Regions from separate parts of the Homo sapiens genome. Here all the other regions are linked to region 2. The links are contacts of gene promoters, found by promoter capture Hi-C in blood cells and fetal thymus (Javierre and others, 2016). All regions are on one chromosome and are shown on one strand. Each heading gives the region's core, a stretch centred on a gene start or on the middle of the fragment in contact. The rest is flanking DNA. Distances are from core to core; before and after follow the strand shown.

Region 1 (2,700 bases), core at 26-2,525, 390 kb before region 2:
CGGCTCGCTGCAAGCTCCGCCTCCTGGGTTCACACTATTCTCCTGCCTCAGCCTCCAGAGTAGCTGGGACTACAGGCACCCACCACCACGCCCGGCTAATTTTTTGTATTTTTAGTAGAGATGGGGTTTCACTGTGTTAGCCAGGGTGGTCTTGATCTCCTGACCTCATGATCCACCTGCCTCAGCCTCCCAAAGTGCTGGGATTACAGGTGTGATCTACCACGCCCGGCCCCCAGTCATATCTTAAAGCTCCAAAATGATCTCCTTTGACTCTGTGACTCACTTCCAGGACATGCTGATGCGAGAGGTAGGCTCCCATGGCTTTGGGAAGCTCTGCCTCTGTGGTTTTGCAGGGTATATCCGCCCTCTTGGCTGCTTTCACAGGCTGATGTTGAATGTCCGATTTTTCCAGGTGCAAAGTGCAAGCTGTCGGTTGATCTATTCTGGAGTCTGGAGGATGGTGGCCCTCTTCTCACAGCTCCACTAGGTGGTGCTCCAGCAGGGACTCTACATGGGGGCTTGGACCCCACATTTCCCTTCTGCACTGTCCTAGAAGAGGTTCTCCATGAGGGCCCCGCCCCTGCAGCAAACTTCTGCCTGGGCATTCAGACATTTCCATACATTTTCTGAAATCTAGGCAGAGGTTCCCAAACCTCAATTCTTGACTTCTGTTCACCTGCAGGCTCAACACCACGTAGAAGCTGCCAGGGCTTGGGGCTTCCACCCTCTAAAGCAACAACCTGAGCTGCAACTTGGCCCCTTTTAGTCACAGCTGCAGCAGCTGGGTTGCAGGGCACAAAGTCCCTAGACTGCACACATCAGAGGGACCCTGGGCCTGGCCCACTAAACTATTTTTTTTCTCCTAAACCTCCAGGCCTGTGATTGGGGGTGGGGGGTCTGCTGTGAGGACCTCTGACCTGCCCTGGAGACATTTTTCCCACTGTCAGAGATTAATATTAGGCTCCTTATTACTTAAGCAAATTTCTGCAGCTGGCTTGAATTGCTCCTCAGAAAATGGGTTTTTCTTCTTTATTGCTTGTCAGACTACAAATTTTGCAAACTTTTATGCTCTGTTTCCCTTTTAAAACTGAATGCTTTTAACAACACCCAAGTCACCTCTTGAATGCTTTGCTGCTTAGAAATTTCTTCTGCCAGAAACCCTAAATCACCTTTCTCAAGTTCAAAGTTCCACAAATCTCCAGGGCAGGGGCAAAATGCCACCAGTCTCTTTGCTAAAACATAACAAGAGTCACCTTTGCTCTAGTTCCCAATAACTTCCTCATCTCCATCTGAGACCATCTCAGCCTGGATTTCATTGTCCATATCATTATCAGCATATTGGTCAAAGCCATTCAACAAGTCTCTAGGGAGTTCCAAACTTTCCCACATTTTCCTGTCTTCTTCTGAGCCCTCCAAATTATTCCAACCTCTGCCTGTTACCCAGTTCCAAAGTTGCTTCCACATTTTCGGGTATCTTTTCAGTAGCACCCCACTCTCGGTACCAATTTACTGTATTAGTCCATTTTCACACTGCTGATAAAGACATACCCGAGACTGGACAATTTACTAAAGAAAGAGGTTTATTGGACTTACAGTTTCACATGGGTGGGGAGGCCTCACAATCATGGCGGAAGGTAAAAGGCATGTCTCACATGGCAGCAGACAAGAGTGGAGAGCTTGTTCAGGGAAACTCCCATTTTTTAAAACCATCAGATCTTGTGAGACTTACTCATTATCATCAGAACAGCACAAGAAAGACCCACCCCCATGATTCAATCACCTCCCACCATGTTCCTCCCATAACATGTGGGAATTCAAGATGAGATTTGGGTGGGGGCAGAGCCAAGCCATATCAAATATCTACTGGCAACATGTAGAATGTGTATTAAAATGCAGAATATGGGCCAGGCATGGTGGCTCATGCCTGTAATCCCAGCACTTTGGGAGGCCGAGGCAGGCAGATCACCTGAGGTCGGGAGTTTGAGACCAGCCTGGCCAACATGGTGAAACCCTGTCTCTACTAAAAAAAAAAAACAGAATTAGCCAGGCGTGGTGGCACATGCCTGTAATCCCGGCTACTTGGGAGGCTGAGGCAGGAGAATCACTTGAACCCAGGAGGCAGAGGTTGCAGTGAGCCGAGATCACGCCATTGCACTCCAGCCTGGGCAACAAGACCGAAACTCCGTCTCAAAAAAAAAAAAAAAATGCAGAATATGTGTGTGTTAAAATCTGCATCCAAGGTTGACATCTAAAGACTATTTGGAAAGCCTTGTGCAGTAAGGGAGGGGAGGGGGTTACAAAGATGTAATATGTAAAGCACAGCCCCTGCCCTTCATTGGGTGGTGGGAGGAAATGTGTGAAAGAAGCAGTCTGCTTAGAACAGCAAGGGAGTCCTTAACGTGGCTTTCTGGGGACAACAGAAAAAGGAATTTGGCTATGTGGGCTGGTCCTGGTGCAATCCTTCTTTATAAGAAGTGTTATGACTTAGACCCCACTGGTTTCACTTGTAGTGCTATAGGGGGCCCCTGGTGGGCCCAAAACACAGACAGAGGAGAAAAAAGGTAGGACCAGAAAAAAAGAAGGAAAGTGGGAAGGAAAGAAAGTGAAGAAGAAAGTGAGAGTAAAGGATGTGCATTACCAAAGAATCTAGCATTTACATCCTACTTCCTAATATAAACAACATTTTCACAAGAATCCTGT
Region 2 (2,700 bases), core at 74-2,573:
AGGGTTGGGAAGGAAAAAGAAAAGGGAAGACCTTCCAAATTGGTGACTGCCGGCTGGGCAGGCAGTGCTGATGGAGTGAGGAAGGGAAGGGTCAAAAGGGCCAAGGTTGATTAGTGGGTGCTGAACTGCGCATATCTTGAATGGCAGATCCAGTGAGTGTGACTGTATTCTGTGAGCATGGGTAGGGACTACAGAGTGTTCACGCTGGAGGTTCTTTTTTTTAGGCAATTTTTTTAAAGTACGCATTTATTTTAGAGATGCATCTGGCTATGTTGACCAAGCTGGAGTGCAGTGGCTATTCACATCCCGGATCGCACACTACAGCCTGTAACTTCTGGGCTCACGCGATCCTCTGCCTCAGCCTCCCAAGCACTTGGGACTACAGGCTCACTGGCGCGCCCAGACTCATCGGAGGTTCTTAGAGCAGTAAGATGATGGGTGCTGAGATTTAGGATTTTTACAATAGACAAGGCAAGCTGATGGGTTGGTGGCTACGGGTTAATTCCCTAGTGACCTGCATCATTATCTTTTGGGAAAACTGCTGTTTGGGGTCTTCCTGGGGACAGCACAGGGCACTCTACCTTAGGGCTACTTCTTCGTGTACATTTTGCAAGGCTTCCCGGATGTGCTTGGGGACCGGCCTGGCTGTGGTGACACAGCCGTTGGTCTGGAGGTCTGCCGATCTCTTCAGCACCTGCCCGTAGTAGGTCTGACCCAGCGTCCCACAGTGGAGTGAGGGGTAGAGAGGGAGAAGAGCTGTGACTGCAGCGCGAGGGCTCCGTCACCACCTCCACCTCCACTTGGCCGACCTCAGTTCCCTGGAAAGGTCGAAGCCTAGACCCTGCCCTACCCCGACTCCAGGAGTCCCGGGGGACAGGGTGCGGGCCAGGCCAGACTTCCATTAGCCTAGGCTCCACTTGGGCCATTCCAGGCCCTACAGCTCTCACCTGCACGTCCTTCTGTATCTCAGCGTCACGAAGTGCAGCCACTGTCGGGAGCGGGAAAGTTAGTTGAAAGGAGAGGGTGCTGAGGGACGGGCATGAGGGAGGGGGCCAGTAAAGGGCAGGCAGCGGGCCGAGGGGTGAGGGGAGGACAAAGGTCTCGAGACACAGCTCGGGGGAGGCGCTCGCGTTCCCGCCTTGCGGGGGCCCAGGGAAGGGGCTGGGGGCTGGGGCGGGGCGCCCAGGGCGCGCACTCACTGTCTCCTCGGCCTGCGACTCAGGGCGCGCACTCACTGTCTCCTCGGCCTGCGACTCAGGGCGCGCACTCACTGTCTCCTCGGCCTGCGACTCAGGACGGCGGGCTCCCGCAGCCAGCTCCTGTGCCGAGGCCCCGCCCAGGCTGGCAGGCTTGCTCCGCCCGCCCATCCCGCTCTAGCCCCTCGCTCAGGCGCCCACCGCCTGACCCGCTGTTCCACTGTCATCCGCGCTGCTCTACAGGCTTTCCAACCAGGAGGTCGGTATCAGCATCCCCCTTGTTCGCTCCACTGCGATTTTCACGGATAAATCTCGTACTCTGATTTAAATGAACACTCACCTATATAATGATCTTCCCCCCTCCCCCTTTTTGGGAATAGAATCATCTTTTCTCGATCTGTTTTTTGAAGTCAAGTTTGTTGAGATATAATTCACATTCCGTGAAATCCATCTTTCTTCAGTGTGCAGTTCTGTGAACTCTGGCAAACGTATATACATCACCAAAACGGAGACCAAAATAGCTCTGGCCCACAAGTTTCTTCGTGCCTCTTTGTAGTAAATTCCCTCTTCCCACCCCTAGCTCCTGGGCAACCACAGATGTTTTCCCTCCCTATAGTTCTGCCTTTTCTAGAATGTCACATAGAGGGAACCATTAACAGTATGTAGCTGTTCCCAGTCTATTTTGGGTTGTATTTAGGAAAGCAACTTTGCTAAATTTATTTTCACCTATAGTAATTTTTGGTCAAGTCACATGTATTTTCCAGGTATTGTCACTTCATCTTGCAGAAAGTTTTTTTTTTAATTTTTAAATTTTTTTGAGACGGTCTCTGTTACCCAGGCCCAACCTCCTGGCTCAAGCGATCCTCCCGCCTCAGCCTCCCAAGTACCTTGGATTACAGGCGTGCACCACCACACCTGGTTAATTTTTGTATTTTTTTATAGAGACGGGATTTCACCATGTTGTCCAGGCTGGTCTCCAACTCCTGGGTTCAAGCAATCCGCCCGCCTCAGCCTCCCAAAGTGTTTGGATTACAGGCATGAGCCACAGTGCCAGGCCCAAAAGTATTTTTTGTTTTTTTAAATATGGAACACTTCACGAATTTGTATGTCATCTTGCGCAGGGGCCATGCAAATCTTCTCTATCATTCCAACTATATGTGCTGCCGAAGCGAGCACCCAAAAGTATTTTTAAATTATTTATTTTTACTTCCACAATTATATGTGTATATCTTGTTTCCCTTTGTGGTTGTAACAAGCATTTCTCTTTTTATAATTTAAATTAAAAAAAAATTTTTAGAGACAGGGTCTCAACTCTGTGGCCCAAGCTTAGCGTCACTGCGCAATCATCTCTGGATCCTTCAACTCTGGCCTCAAGCCATCCTCCCTCCTCAGCCTCCCCAGTAGCTGGGACTACAGGTGCAAGCCACCATGCCCAGCTTGTAACGATCATTTCTATTCATTAGGACAGTAAGGAAACAGGGAGATCCAAGTGAAAGGATATCTA
Region 3 (2,700 bases), core at 97-2,596, 450 kb before region 2:
AGTTTCACTGTTTTTGCCCAGGATGGAGTGCAATGGTGCGATGATGTCGGCTCACCGCAACCTCCGCCTCCTGGGTTCAAGCGATTATCCTGCCTCAGCCTCCTGAGTAGCTGGGATTACAGGCATGCGCCACCATGCCTGGCTAATTTTCTAGTTTTTTTAGTAGACAGAGTTTCTCCATGTTGGCCAGGCTGGTCTTGAACTCCCAGCCTCAGGCAATCTGCCCACCTCGGCCTCCCAAAGTGCTGGGATTACAAGTGTGAGCCACCGCGCCCGGCCATCATGTGTTCTTAAGAAAGATTTAAGTTCATTTAAAATTTAGAGATCAATAATTATCCAAATATGTTTCTTTCTCATAGAGACTCCAGTGTCTCAGGGTTACTGTGGTTGATTTAGTGGTATTTACTCTTTGATGTCTTATTGTATTTTGCTTTGTTTGATATTCAGACCTTATTTTGCTTTTATGAGATGAAATTTAGAACATACACCTCACATTGATCACTAAAAATTCTTCTATAAGATGTGATATTTGATTTTGTTAATCCTGCCATAACTAATTCCATCTTAAAAGTTAGGCTGGCCAGGCATGGTGGCTCATACCTGTAATCTCAGCATTTTGGGAGGCTGAGGCGGGCGGATCACGAGGTCAAGAGATGGAGACCATCCTGGCCCACATGGTGAAACCCCATCTCTACTAAAAATACAAAAATTAGCTGGGCATGGTGGTATGCACCTGTATAGTCCCAGCTACTCGGGAAGATGAGGCAGGAGAATCACATGAATCCAGGAGGTGGAGGTTGCGGTGAGCCGAGATCGCACCACTGCACTACAGCCTGGCGACAGAGCAAGACTCCATCTCAAAAAAGTTAGGTTATTATTATTACTTATTTGGTGTATGATATTAAGCCTTCTATTAAATTTAGTTTCCAAATAATTTTTTAAGGACTAATATATGATGTTTCCATACCATTTATTATATATTGTTACTAAATTGAGGGTCTATGTATTTGACCTTAGGAGTACAAAGATGAGACAAAATTCATGCCATCAGGGGACTCAGAATTTTGTAGGAAAGATATATAAGTAAACAACTAACTAACAATAGGATGTAATGAATGCAACAGTGGAGATAACACAAAAGTGAATGATTTAACTCAGGAATGGGTTTGAAGAACAAATAGGAATTTGCCAGACACAGAAAAAAAGAACTTAGTAGCAAAGAAGAGTATGTATGGCCAGGTCCGGTGGCTCACGCTTGTAATCCCAGCACTTTGGGAGGCCGAGGCGGGCACATCACAAGGTCAAGAGATCGAGACCATCCTGGCCAACATGGTGAAACCCCGTCTCTACTAAAAATACAAAAAAAAAATTAGCTGGGCATGGTGGTACGCCTGTAGTCTCAGCTACTCAGGAGGCTGAGGCAGGAGAATCGCTTGAACCCAGGAGGCGGAGGTGGCAGTGAGCCGAGATCCCACCACTGCATTCCAGCCTGGGCGGCAGAGTGAGACTCCATCTCGAAAAGAAGAGTATGTATGATCAAAGGAATGAGCCAGTGTGGCTTATCAAAGCACACTGATTGAAAAATCTTAACTTGGAAGCTCTAGCATGATCTTGCTTTTAAAAAGATGAGGACTTTTTCTCCTTTTAATAAGACTACTTTCATGGTCTGATTTCTGCTCTGAGATTCAAAAATATTTTTGTTATCTCTTCTTGATACTCCAGAGGGTAAGATATTATGCACAAAAGAGTTAACGTATCAGCCTTGAGGCTGCTGTCGTTAGAAGGGCCTGCTTACAAAGCTGGCCTTTGGCTATCGAGGAACTAGGCCTGCAAAAAGTTTCCTACACTAATGTGAAAAGTTTTCTAACTGCAATTTGGTAGTTGTTAGACAGCGAGTGCCAACAAAACCAACTTTTTTTTTCTTTTTTCTTTTTTTTTTTCAGACAGAGTCTCGCTCTGTCGCCCAGGCTGGAGTGCAGTGGTGCCATCTCAGCTCACTGCAGCCTCTGCCTCCCAGGTTCAAGCCATTCTCTGCCTCAGCCTCCTGAGTAGCTGGGATTACAGGCGACCGCCACCATGCCCGGCTAATTTTTTTGTATTTTTGGTAGAGACAGGGTTTTACCATCTTGGCCAGGCTGGTCTTGAACTGCTGACCTTGTGATCCGCCTGCCTCAGCCTCCCAAAGTGCTAGGATTACAGGTGTGCGCCACCGCACCCGCACTTTTTTCTTTTTTTTTTTTTGAGATGGAGTCTCCCTCTGTTACCCAGGCTAGAGTGCAGTGGCGCGATCTCGGTTCACTACAACTTCTGACTCCCAGGTTTGAGTGATCCTCCTGCCTCAGCCTCCTGAGTAGCTGGGATTACAGGTGTCTGCCACCACACCCAGCTTATTTTTGTATTTTTTGTAGAGACAGGGTTTTGCCATGTTGGCCAAGCTGGTCTCGAACTCCTGACCTCAGGTGATCTGCCCGTCTCGGCCTCCCAAAGTGCTGGGATTACAGGCGTGAGCCACCGCACCCAGTTGATCCCATTTTTTTTAAAGCAAAAAATGAATAACAGAAAAACCCACATGCACACATAGTGTTCTAGGACCATACACATCAAACTCTTAGAAACTGACCAACCCCAGCTGGGTGCGGTGGCTCATGCCTGTAATCCCAGCACTTTGGGAGGCTGAAGTGGGCGGATTGCCTGAGTTCG

The links. Contacts are between HindIII fragments. The CHiCAGO score rates a contact against its expected background, and 5 or more counts as called.
Region 1: a fragment that was not itself captured here is called in contact with the fragment with the promoter of AS3MT in region 2 in 1 of 17 cell types (erythroblasts); the score reaches 7.6 in erythroblasts.
Region 3: a fragment that was not itself captured here is called in contact with the fragment with the promoter of AS3MT in region 2 in 4 of 17 cell types (erythroblasts, M0 macrophages, M1 macrophages and 1 more); the score reaches 7.4 in erythroblasts.

What each region holds. Positions count from the first base shown.
Region 1 is chr10:103,257,923-103,260,622 of GRCh38, reverse strand. No RefSeq gene overlaps it. Among named protein-coding and RNA genes, the nearest start is that of RPEL1, 13 kb to the right of the region's middle. The HindIII fragment of the contact is 4,680 bases long and covers 1-2,700 here.
Region 2 is chr10:102,868,093-102,870,792 of GRCh38, reverse strand. It overlaps AS3MT (arsenite methyltransferase), which reads right to left and starts at 1,323. Exons shown (of 11, transcript NM_020682.4): 1 at 1,200-1,323; 2 at 948-988; 3 at 582-709. The coding sequence starts at 1,200. It overlaps BORCS7-ASMT (BORCS7-ASMT readthrough (NMD candidate)), which reads right to left. Exons shown (of 15, transcript NR_037644.1): 6 at 948-988; 7 at 582-709. It also overlaps the pseudogene LOC124902567. The HindIII fragment of the contact is 4,429 bases long and covers 1-2,523 here.
Region 3 is chr10:103,317,984-103,320,683 of GRCh38, reverse strand. The region is part of intron 8 of PCGF6 (polycomb group ring finger 6); the gene reads left to right. Among named protein-coding and RNA genes, the nearest start is that of PCGF6, 32 kb to the left of the region's middle. The HindIII fragment of the contact is 3,787 bases long and covers 1-2,700 here.